Regions from separate parts of the Homo sapiens genome. Here regions 2, 3 and 4 are each linked to region 1. The links are contacts of gene promoters, found by promoter capture Hi-C in human tissues and cell types (Jung and others, 2019). All regions are on one chromosome and are shown on one strand. Each heading gives the region's core, a stretch centred on a gene start or on the middle of the fragment in contact. The rest is flanking DNA. Distances are from core to core; before and after follow the strand shown.

Region 1 (2,880 bases), core at 169-2,668:
GATGGAGCTTCCACACTTCTAACTGCCAAAATAAAACCTTTCAGTCATCCCTGACTCCACTCTCTTTCTCAAAACTAAAAATTCAGGCAGCCCTACTTAAAAAATGAATCCAGAATCCAACTGCTTCTCGCATCTTCACAGCCACCATTTTGGCCTATCACATTCTATCACATTCACCTGGCCTATCCCAGTAGTCTCCTCCCAGGTCTCCCCACCTCATCCTTCAGTTGGCTTCCCATGCTGCAGCCACAGGGAGCCTAATAAGACCAGAACCAGATCACCTCCCTCTTCCACTCCAAACCTCCCACTGTTACTATTAAGTAACGAATAGACAACTCAACTTCTCAGGGAACCATTCCGGGTCTGACTTCTACTACACTGCTCCCTGTTCTCATGAAAAGAAAATAATTGTAGGTTCCTGAACTATCTTAGCCTCCTCTCCAAACTTAGCATATACTGGTAACTTTGCCTTGGACAACCTTCTACATCTCCTTTCCCCCGGCTGCCAACAGCTTCATATAATCTAACCTGGACTTAAGACTCTGGGCTTTGTATTTGCTCAAAGTCTCAGGGCCCAAGGCTAGACGAGTGGCGAGGCTCAGGTCGCCCAATGACCCTGGTCCAGTTTTGGAGCCAGGTGGCCTGGGCTGGCTGCACTATCTCCGCACCTCAGTTCTCAGTGCTGACTTTACCAGCTGCGTGAGCTTGGACAAGAACTCAGTCTTCCTATGCCTAACTACTATTACCTCTCTTCAGCCTGTTCTTCCCCTGAGCAACTTTTGGATAGCTTTAGGAAATCCTAGCCCAGTGTCCCTATCTGTTCACAAATCTCGAAGGCTGCCAGTGTCCTCAGAATCGTCAAATTCGTCAGGTGCAACTCTGCCTCACTCTATGTTCCTGCAGACCCGAGACGGACCCCAGGCTCCTGAATCCCCCCCAGCTTAGTCGCAGCTCCAAGTTCTGCACGCGCCAGTCAACTGCCCGTCACATTTCCGTACACACTGGGCGTCACAAACGGGTCCAATCCACAAGCGCCTTCTTGTCCAGGGTACTGGGGCCTGGGCTGCAGGGCTGTGAGCAGGCATCCCTCACTGGGCCTTAAGGCTTCTGCTGGGGGAGGTAGGCGAGACCCGGAGGACGCACAACTCACCTGAGCCGAGTCCCTCAGCGCGACTGCCGCCATTGAGCTCCGTGGACTAGGCGGGGAGCGGCGGCCGACCGGGGCGGGCATTCGAACACAACAGTCCCTATCCCGGGCCTGGCGCAGCTCACCCGAGGTGGTGTCGCAGAACCTCTGGCCCACTTTCGCGACTTCTCTGTCCCGTCCCTCAGTCGCGACCTCCACTGCAGAAACTGGCGGGCTGGACAAACAGGACAGAGGCCAAAATGACCGCCACGAGGAGGACGCCGGAAGTTCCGGCCCGTCGCGCTGCGCGTGCGCGGAAGTGTTGCTATCCTGGGCTGTCATTGGCTCAACTCCGCCGCCGTTTTGCGCTCTGCACTCTGGATAATGTAGTTTCCAAAACTCCACGGAGCTCTTCGGAGTGTGTCCACTGCTTTGACCTCTGCGAACTTGTATTCTGAGGTGCTGTGCCCCGTGCAGGGAAATGGCGACTTCGGCCTCTAGGGGAGAAGGAGGTATTTACTCCTTCTTAAAGGGGCTTTTCCCAGATTTCTGGGAAGTGTTTTCCGTAACTGATCACTTAAGTGTTTAGAGACATTATTTCAGACTCCACGAAGCTCAGGGTGCCCCTAGAGGCAAACAAATATTATTTCAGGGGGTTGGGCGCGGTGGCTCACGCCTGTAATCCCAGCACTTTAGAAGGCCGAGGCGGGCGGATCACCTGAGGTCAGAAGTTCGAGACCAGGCTGGCCAACATGGCGGAACCCCATCTCTACTAAAAATACAAAAATTAGTCGGGCGGGCCGGGCGCAGTGGTTCACGCCTGTAATCCCAGCACTTTGGGAGGCCAAGGTGGGTGGATCACGCGATCAGGAGTTCGAGACCAGCCTGGCCAACATGGTGAAACCCTGTCTCTACTAAAAATACAAAAATTAGCCGGGCATGGTGGCGAGCGCCTGTAATCCCAGTACTTGGGAGGCTGAGGCAGGAGAATCGTTTGAACCTGGGAGGCAGAGGTTGCAGTGAGTCGAGATCACGCCATTGCACTCCAGCCTGGGCGACAGGGGGAGACTCCGTCTCCAAAAAAAAAAAAAGAAAAAAAAAATTTGGATTTTGGAGCATTTTGGATTTTAGATTTTTGGCTCAGGGATATTCAACCTGTATTTTGTTCTCATTAAATAGGTTCCTCTTTCACTTTGTTATTGTTTGATATACTAAAGTTTTAATTTTCATGAAGTCTAATTGGTCTATTTTTCTTTTGTCACATGTGTATTTGGTGTCAAATCCAAGAAATTATGGCCAAATTCAATGTCATAAAACTTTCACCCTATATTTTCTTTTAAGTGTTTTATAGTTTTGGGTCTTATGTTTAGGTTTTTAGTCCATTTTGAGTTCATTTGTGTTTTTGGTGTTAGGTAAGGGTTCACCTTCATTCCTTAGCATGTGAATATTTCATTTTCCCAGCATCATTTGCTGAAAAGATCATCGTTTCCCCATTGAGTGGTCTTGGTAGCCTTGTTGAGATCATTTGACCATATACATTACTATTGCAAATGATATTGTTTTCTTAATTTCCTTTTCAGATTTTTCATTGTTAGTGTATGGAAGGGCATATGAGTTTTACATGTTGACTTTTGCATGTTGACTTTGAATTCAGCTACACAGGTGAATTTGTTTATCAGTTCTTTTTTTTTTTTTTTTTCCCAGACGGAGTCTCACTCTGTTGCCCAGGCTAGAGTGCAATGGCTTGATCTTGG
Region 2 (2,880 bases), core at 210-2,709, 490 kb after region 1:
AGGAGTTGAAGACCAGCCTGGCAAATATGGTGAAACCCAGTCTCTACTAAAATACAAAAATCAGTCAGGTGTGGTAGTGCATGCCTGTAATCCCAACTACTCGGCAGGCTGGGGCAGGAGAATTGCTTGAACCTGGGAGGCAGAGACTGCAGTGAGCTGAGAGTGCACCACTGTACTCCAGCCTGGGCGACAGAGTGAGACCCTGTCTCAAAACAAAAAAAAGTATGTGAACACGGGCACAAAAAGCTCAGCATTCCTCACTGACCCCACAGAGCGGCACTGGAAGGGCTGCATCTACTTGGGGAACGACAGGCTCCAGACCAGCTTCCCATGCCCTCTGGGATCTCCCTGGGTCTCCCAGATCCCCCAAGGAAATTCCACAATGAACCAACCATCGGCCTCTTTCCTTACTGGGTTCCGACAGAACTTGTCTCTGACGCCAGGATACTTTGGGGCCACGGAACACGAGCGGCCAAGGATAATGCAGGCTGTAGCGATGAGAGTAAGGGCATCTGACTGGCCACAATGTCTGCAGTAGTTGCGGATGGCTAGAACATCCAGGAAAAGACCACACACTGTTGCCCTCCACGTCTCAGCGGCCGCAGGAAAACCATGGCAACCTTACACACCCTCCTGAGCCTCCTTAAACATACAACATACCTTGTCTCTGCTCGCGCATTTGTCGGCTTGCTACTGCCCTGCCCTCCCCTTCCCCCCTCAGGCCCCCAATTCATGCTGGAATGAGACCTGGTCCACCAGAGAATGCTTGCAGGCCAAGGATGATGGGAGTCCCCAGAGGAAGCATCATTCACTCAACAACCTACGGAGCTCCTTCCAGTAGGCCCAACACTCCTTACGGCCAGGTATAAATTAAGTGGCAAACCAGCTCCACACACCAAAGCGAACGACGACTGCGAAGACAAATCCAGGGGATACCTGGGCTCCCACCCACTTCGGAAACCGCCTCAGCGCTGGCAAGGAAGCGGCAACCGCGAAGCCACCGTCCACTCACCTGGGCCCGGTCCGTCAGCACCGCTGCCGCCATCACGTCACCCCCTGGGCCGCAGAGCTGGGACAGAGGAGCCCCGGGCGGCCTGACGGACCCCACCTGTGCCCGACCCTGGCCGGTTGCCCGGGGCTTCCAGGCGCGCTCGGGGCCGCCGCCTCCTCGGTGGCAACGGCGTTCCAGACGCAGGGCCGCCGCCTCCTCGGTGGCAACCGCGTTCCAGACCCAGGGCGCCGCCCCTGGAGACCGCGGGGCTGAAGGGCGGGGGAGGAGAGACCGCAGCTTGACGGCGACCCAGGAACAAACCCACGGAAGGGGTCAGGCTCGTACAAAGGTGCGGCGGGGATTCCTATCCTACTCCCCTGCTCGGTCCTGACTAGGGACCTGCAAAGCGGCCCCGACCGGGGCCCTCAGTGGCTACAGACCTCTCCAGACAGAAGTGCAGAAGAAAATGGCGTCCGCAGCGAGCAACCCGGAAGTCCCGCCCCCACCGGCGTGAGCCGTCGGAAACGTCCCCGTCCTAGGCCGTCGTTGGCCCAGCTCCCGCCGTACGCATAATGCACAGCCTTCTAAGTAGTGTAGTTTTCCTCATGTGTTCAACAACGGGAGGAACGCTTCACGGCGCAAGTTTTCCTCCCAGGGAAAGGCACTCCAGGACCCGAGGAGACGCTCCAGACCCACCTCTTTACGGTGGGCACAACTCGAGGGGAAGGATGGAGGGAGGGAACCGAGGGGCAAGGGTTACATTGCATTCTTCTCTCGGGAAAATCGGAGCTCGGGAGACAGGGACTTTCCTTCAGGTCAGGGCACAGGCAAAGGCGCAGAACTGGGTCCTCAGCTCGCCTGGCGACTGACCCCCTTTCACATCCCTCCTCCCCGGATCATCATCTTGGAAGACACAAAAAAGCCGAATGATCATCTGGAAGCCCTGCCCCGACACGTTGTGTGCGCAAACTGCCCTCTTTTGAGCCTTCTTTGGACCAGCACAGCCTCTACGTGATGCAGGGAGTCATGTATTTGGCCCAGACCACACAAAAAGTGGATTTGCCCACTTCTGAGGTGGGGAGGCTGCAAGTGGAGGAGGTTCGGAGGCTCAGGATGGTTAGTTTGAAATGTCTACAGAACCACAAAGTATCTCTGTCACAGGCAATTCGACTTACGACTGAATGTTGGAAGAAGGTTTGAGCATGAATATATGAATTTAGGAGTTACCTTACACTGTTATTTCAAGTCATGATATTGAGTGAGACCATCAAGGCAATGCATGTAGATGGAGAAGAAAATACACAGAGCATGAGCCGGGGACCAAGTCTACATCATTAAATGGTTGATGACAATATTACCAGAAAGGCCAGGTCCTTGCATCTAGATCCTGCTGCTTGCTGCACAGAAGGCCAGTCAGCAAGACAATGAGTATTGTCAGGGATGAAGGCTTTATTCGGTGCTGCAGCTGAGGAAAATGGGAGATCAATCTCAAATCTCTTTCCTCAACTGACTAAAACTAGGGGTTTATACATCAGGGAAGAAGTGTAACTATGTTTGAGAAAACAGGAATTAGGAAGGGGTAAGGAAGAGGAATGGGTCAACAGGCAGCAGATGGTCAGTTAGGCAATCATCATGGGTAAGGGGTATAGCATCTCGTTTTTCCAGATGTGGTAATCCAGTAAGTTTCAGTTTCTTTATACTATCTGGGAGGCCTGATGCTTGGTTTCCTGAGAAAGGAAATCAGATAAGACAAATAAAAGTGTCTCGAGTTTTAGGAAGGGGAGGCTCAATGTCTATAATGTGTTGATTCAAAAGAAACCATAAATATCAGTTCTATGGGACACTGGAGCTGGTTTCAGTTCCCTGTTTCTATTTATCAATTCCTCAAT
Region 3 (2,880 bases), core at 381-2,880, 310 kb after region 1:
GCCCTGTGTTATGTGGTATGTAACCTCCTTAGGGAAACGTAAGGAATAAATATCTTCTTTCAGTGTCATTGGCCTGTCCCTGGCATCACTCACTCACATCCATAAATTAAAACTCCATGGGGGCCAGGCACAGTGGCTCATGCCTATAATCCCAGCACTTTGGGAGGCTGAGGCGGGCAGATCACCTGAGGTCAGGAGTTCAAGACCAGCCTGGCCAACACAGTGAAATCCCATCTCTACTAAAAATACAAAAATTAGGTGGGCATGGCGGCACATGCCTGTAGTCCTAGCTACTTGGGAGATTGAGGCAGAACTGCTTGAATCCAGGAGGTGCAGGTTGCAGTGAGCCAAGATCATGCCACTGCACTCCAGCCTGGGTGACAACACAGCAAGACTCCATCTAAAAAAAAAAAAACAAAAAACCCCAATGGGTACAATCACTGCTACTTTTCTCTCTCCAGGAACTCATCCCTCTCCCCTACACCTCCTTTCCTTCCTCAATCTCTACACCCTCCCAATGTGGAAGAGAAACCACATCCAGGTGGCATGAGTGACTTTTCTCTCCATATTGACATTGGCCACCGTGTCCAGCACACAGAGGAAACAGATGGAAGATAAGGTAGAAAAGGAATGTGGGCCTCCCGTGGGGGGATCCATCCTCTCCTGCCAGCCAGTTTCCATGGAGTCACCCAGATCTTGCCTCCCAAGACAACCAAACTCAGACTCATCCTCCTCCCTTGAGCTACCAGGGCCAGGGCCTGAGGCCCTCCATTCACACTCCTCCTGCCTGCACATCACTCTTTGGACAGCACTCCAATCCCATCTCTCACACCTCCACTCCAGTCAATTCCACAGACACCTCCCAGCCCACACCACAGGCATTTCCTTCACCTCCTAACAGGCCACTCTGCACACAGAAACCAGGTGGTGCACGGCAAATACGCTCAGCATCCAATTCACTCCCAGTCCTGCCCCAGAACACCAAAGTTCCCTAGCACCGGGGGCAGCCCTAAGCCCTGGGTTGAAGGTTCCCTACATGGCCCTGTTTCTCACTTCACTGTCAGGTGCCCAAACCATGTGAGGACTTCACATACTCTCAGCTGTGTCCTGCCTCATGGACACAGGATTGTAAGTTTCCTGAGGCCTCCGAGTTATGCTTCCTGTTAAGCCTGAAGAACTATGGGCTGGGTGCGGTGGCTCACGCCTGTAATCCCAACACTTTGGGAGGCTGAGGAGGATGGATCACGAGGTCAGGAGATCAAGACCATCCTGGCCAACATGGTGAAAGCCCATCTCTACTAAAAATACAAAAATTAGCTGGGCGTAGTGGGGTGAGTCTGTCGTCCCAGCTATTCAGGAGGCTGAGGCAGAAGAATCGCTTGAACCTGGCAGGGAGAGATTGCAGTGAGCCGAGATTGTGCCACTGCACTCCAGCCTGGGCCACATCTCAAAAAAAAAAAAAAAAAAAAAAAAGAACTGTGAGTCAATTAAACTTCTTTTCTTCATAAAGTACCCAGTCTCAGGTAGTTCTTTGTAGCAATATGAAAACAGACTAATAGAATTCCCATCCTCATCTCATTCCAACTGATGCTTAGCAACTCTCCGACCTCACCCTATTACCCTCCTCAGCAACCCCATCATGTCCACTCTCCTTCAGAAGTCTTTCTCACTCCTATACCCCACCATCTCACATACACTCATCCCCACAAACACTCCATTCCCTCATTTGTCTAGTGACTCCTCCACCACTGCACAGCTACCCAGTAAGAGACCCAGTTCTCATGCCCCATTCCAATTCTCTGTCTTCGAACAGCACTGCCACCATAACCTAGAGATGCTGTCACCTAAACTGAATCCATGGCTTCATCCTGGTCCATACGACAGCCACCATAGTGTGGACGTCTCCAACCTGAACTCCTCCACCAGGAGTCTCTGAGACATCTGTGGCTTGAACAAACACTGACTCCTCACACTCACTCTGAAAATTCCTAATACTGCTGACTTCTCCCATCTTAGCTGATGGAGCATCTATGCTTCCAAACAAAAACCATGGGGCCACTCCTGATTCCCCTTCTATCCCACCCCCCCAGCTGCCTCACTCTCTACATCATAAAATGTGGGCAGCTCCAGTTCAAAACACATCCTGAAGCCACCGCTACTCTTGACAAGTCACCACCAACATCCACCTAGACTGCTGCAGGAACATCCTCTCAGATCTCCCTGCCATTACCCTCACCTCCACAGTCTGTCCTCCACTCAGACGCCAAAGAAAGTTCCTTAAGCTAGGGTCCTATCACTGCCCTCTTCTGCTTCAAATCTTCCCCATCTACCACCTCCCTTAGATTAGAGACCCAGGACCTAGGCTGTCATTCCAGGCCTGATGTTTGTGTGTCTCTAGCCACCTCCCACTCTGCTCCCTATTCCTATCCGATATAACAGACACTTGCAGTTCCCTAAAAATCCAGTTCAGTCTCTCCTCTAAACACTGAAACATTCTTAATCTTGTGCCCATGACACTCTGACAGATGTTACCACGTCAACTGTCAAAAATGGGAGCCACTCCACATAATCCAGGGCCATCCAGGTAAGGTGTCACAGTAAACTTAAAACAATCAAACAAAAATCCCAGACCTAATTTAAGATACTAGAACTGGTGGAATCACTCACTTTTCAGACATAAGAGAGGGAGAAAGACAGAAAGAGAGTCTCTGGACACCACTTTTCTTTACATGGAGGTGCCAAAACCATCTATGAGATAACTGGTAGGTGAAAGGTAGAAAACACTCCACTCACCTGTGCAGGGTTCATTTCTGCCATCGCCAGGGGACCCTGAAGGAAGAGGGAAACCGTGAGAAATGGGCAACGATGGGAAGATCTTAC
Region 4 (2,880 bases), core at 286-2,785, 270 kb after region 1:
GTTGCCAGGCTGGAGTGCAGTGGTGTGATCTCGGCTCACTGCAAGCTCCGCCTCCCGGATTCAAGTGATTCTCCTGCCTCAGCCTCCTGAGTAGCTGGGATTACAGGCGCGTGCCACCATGACTGGCTAATTTTTGTATTTTTAGTAGAGATGGGGTTTCACCATGTTGTTCAGGCTGGTCTAGAACTCCTGACCTCGTGAACTGCCTGCCTTGGCCTCCCAAATTGCTGGGATTACAGGCATGAGCCACCACGCCCGGCCCATGAGCAACTTCTTATTCTGTTTCCTTAGATCTGTATTTATCTACTTGAAATCTAAGAATTAGAGGACCAAAATAACAACCAGCATTTTAACATTTCTCTTATAATCCAGATCCCATAGACTGAACTGCCTCCTATCTAACAATCACACATGATTCTTTCTCCTGCCCTAAATCAACACAAGGCTTGTACCACAAAAGGAGGGATAGTCCCTATACCCCAAGGCTGCCAAAATCATGCAAACTACCCAGTCTTAAGCTCTTCACTCTCCCCTGCATGCCTTTCCAGCCAAAACCCCAATAAAGCCACTGATATATGCTCTCCCTTCAACTGTGCATCTGCCACCTGACCAAATCCGCTATTTCCTCTGTGGCTTTATGTGATGTGGCATGCTCCCTGCACTCAGGAAATGAAAGGAATAAAAATCATTTCATCCAGGTATGATTTCTCACCAATTGAAAAAAAAAATTATTTCAATGTCATTGGCTTTTCTGTAATCACTCACTCTTGTTCACAGATTGAAATCCTGTGGGTACAATCACTGATACACTTCCCTCTCCAGGACCTTCAGTGCTCCTCACCACACCCACACACATCCACACCCTGCTAGCCTCCACCCACTTCTGAAGGAGGAAGAGACACTAGGTCTTCATGGCACCTGTACCTGCTCTCCCCTCATTGCCACTGATCACTGACTCCAGTATAGAACAAAGATGGGTGGGGGAAAGAGACTGAAAAGCGCCATCAAAACCTGGCACATGGCCGGGCATGGTGGCTCATGCCTCTAATCCCAGCACTTTGGGAGGCTGAGGCAGGTAGATCACAAGGTTAGGAGTTCAAGACCTGCCTGGCCAAGATAGTAAAACCCCATCTCTACTAAAAATACAAAAATTAGCCGGGCATGGTGGCAGGCACCTGTAATCCCAGCTACTCGGGAGGCTGAGGCAGAGTACTGCTTGAACCTGGGAGGCAGAGGTTGCAGTGAGCCGAGATCGCGCCACTGCACTCCATCCTGGGCAACAGAGCTAGACTCCATCTCAAAAAACAAAACAAAACAAAAAAAACACCTGGCACATGGGGGCCTACCTTTCTTTTGTCACTCAATTTCCCTAGAGTCACCCAGATCTTGCCTCTCAGATAACCAAACTTGGACTCACCCTCCTCCCTTAAGTGCCCAGTGCCAGAGGTGGAACCATCTATTCATGCTCCTCCACTCAGGCTTTGGATGGCACCTCCCTCATGTATCCAACACCTCCACTCTTGGCAACACTAACAACCACCACAGCCCAACTGGGAGTATTTCCATGGCGTGTTACCATGCCACTCTGCACATGAAATCCTGCAGTGCATGACAAATGCAACCAGAATCGTATTTGCCCCTAGAATGACCAGAATGCAATGTTTAGGAAACATTGCTTTGAACGTCTCCCAACCCAATCCTGTTTCTTTCTTTGACCTCAGCTTTCCAAACCCACATATTCTTGCACACCTCCTTTGAGTTCCAGATCTTGGCTGTCTCCCCCTTCTACATGTATATGTTGTCCCATAAGCAGTCACGACTTTCTCTATCCCCCAACTCTAATCCAAAGCCCAGATACACTGACCTCCCCAACACCATCCCCACCCCAGGACTAGCAATGCTTCTAGATGATCCCATCTTCTGCCAAAATAGTCTCAGAGTTCGCGTGAAACTACCCAGGTACAACCAATATTTGCCACAAAACCCTGTTGAGTCCATAATAGGGTACTAAGCCCCTCCCAGACCTCACTATCATCTCACCTCTTTTGTGGAGATGCCTCACCATCCAACTTTTATGTGCACTCTCCCCCTCAAAAGCCTTTATTTTCCAAAGGCCATCTCCAACATAAACACACAAATACACACACACATATCCTCAGTCCATCCACTCCCTCATCTGTCTTTGTGATGCCCAGCAACCCCATCCAGGTGCCCAACAGAAAGATCCAGTCCTCAGCCCCTTCCTTCCCCTTCCTTCTCCCTAACAGCATTGCCTCCAGAATCTAAAGATGTCTATTCCTAAATCTGACCCACAGATTTACCATGGTGTACACGCTGGCTATCATATAGTAGATGTCTCCATCCTGAACACCTCCATTGAACTCCATTCCTGTGTGTTCAACTGCCAGTCTGGCACCTCTACTCGAGTCTCTGGAACATTTTTGACTTAGCCCAAACCTCGTTCTTCATATGCTCTATTAAACTCCCCCTACTACAAAATTTACCACATCTTAGTTGCTGGAACATCCAACCTTCTCAACAAGGCCAAAACAATGGGGCCATTCCTGACTCCCTCTTGCATCCTACCTCCCGAGCTTCCTCGCTCTGTACATCAAAAAATGTGAGCAGCTCTAGATCAAAACCTACAGAAGCCACCCACCCCTCCCACCTCCACAGCCGCCACTCGTGTCCAGCCACCACCAACCTCCACTGGACTGTGGCAGGAATTATCACCCAGGTATCCTTGGTTCTTCCCTAACTCTCACTCTGTCCTCCATTCTGCAGGCAGAGGAAGCCTCTTAGAATCTAGGTCAAATCTGGCTGGGTGCAGTGGCTCAGGCCTGTAATTCCAGCACTTTGGGAGGCTGAGGCGGGCAGATC

What was found. The method cuts DNA at HindIII sites, captures the fragments that hold promoters and counts their contacts. A contact is called where the count stands out against the background at its distance.
Region 2: the fragment with the promoter of ZNF264 here is called in contact with the fragment with the promoter of ZNF551 in region 1 in 1 of the 25 tissues and cell types used here (liver).
Region 3: a fragment that was not itself captured here is called in contact with the fragment with the promoter of ZNF551 in region 1 in 1 of the 25 tissues and cell types used here (dorsolateral prefrontal cortex).
Region 4: a fragment that was not itself captured here is called in contact with the fragment with the promoter of ZNF551 in region 1 in 1 of the 25 tissues and cell types used here (liver).

The regions. Positions count from the first base shown.
Region 1 is chr19:57,680,515-57,683,394 of GRCh38, reverse strand. ZNF551 (zinc finger protein 551) reads right to left here and starts at 1,418. Exons shown (of 3, transcript NM_138347.5): 1 at 1,151-1,418. The coding sequence starts at 1,231. RefSeq lists a silencer at 978-1,047 and an enhancer at 1,103-1,726. The HindIII fragment of the contact is 9,267 bases long and covers 1-2,880 here.
Region 2 is chr19:57,190,079-57,192,958 of GRCh38, reverse strand. It overlaps ZNF264 (zinc finger protein 264), which reads right to left and starts at 1,459. Exons shown (of 4, transcript NM_003417.5): 1 at 1,013-1,459. The coding sequence starts at 1,045. RefSeq lists a silencer at 944-1,213 and enhancers at 1,384-1,443, 1,454-1,543, 1,564-1,623. The HindIII fragment of the contact is 13,408 bases long and covers 1-2,880 here.
Region 3 is chr19:57,368,493-57,371,372 of GRCh38, reverse strand. ZNF547 (zinc finger protein 547) reads right to left here. Exons shown (of 4, transcript NM_173631.4): 2 at 2,794-2,829. The coding sequence starts at 2,817. Among named protein-coding and RNA genes, the nearest start is that of ZNF547, 6.4 kb to the right of the region's middle. The HindIII fragment of the contact is 8,803 bases long and covers 1-2,880 here.
Region 4 is chr19:57,414,948-57,417,827 of GRCh38, reverse strand. The region is part of intron 2 of ZNF17 (zinc finger protein 17); the gene reads right to left. Among named protein-coding and RNA genes, the nearest start is that of ZNF17, 5.2 kb to the right of the region's middle. The HindIII fragment of the contact is 5,457 bases long and covers 1-2,880 here.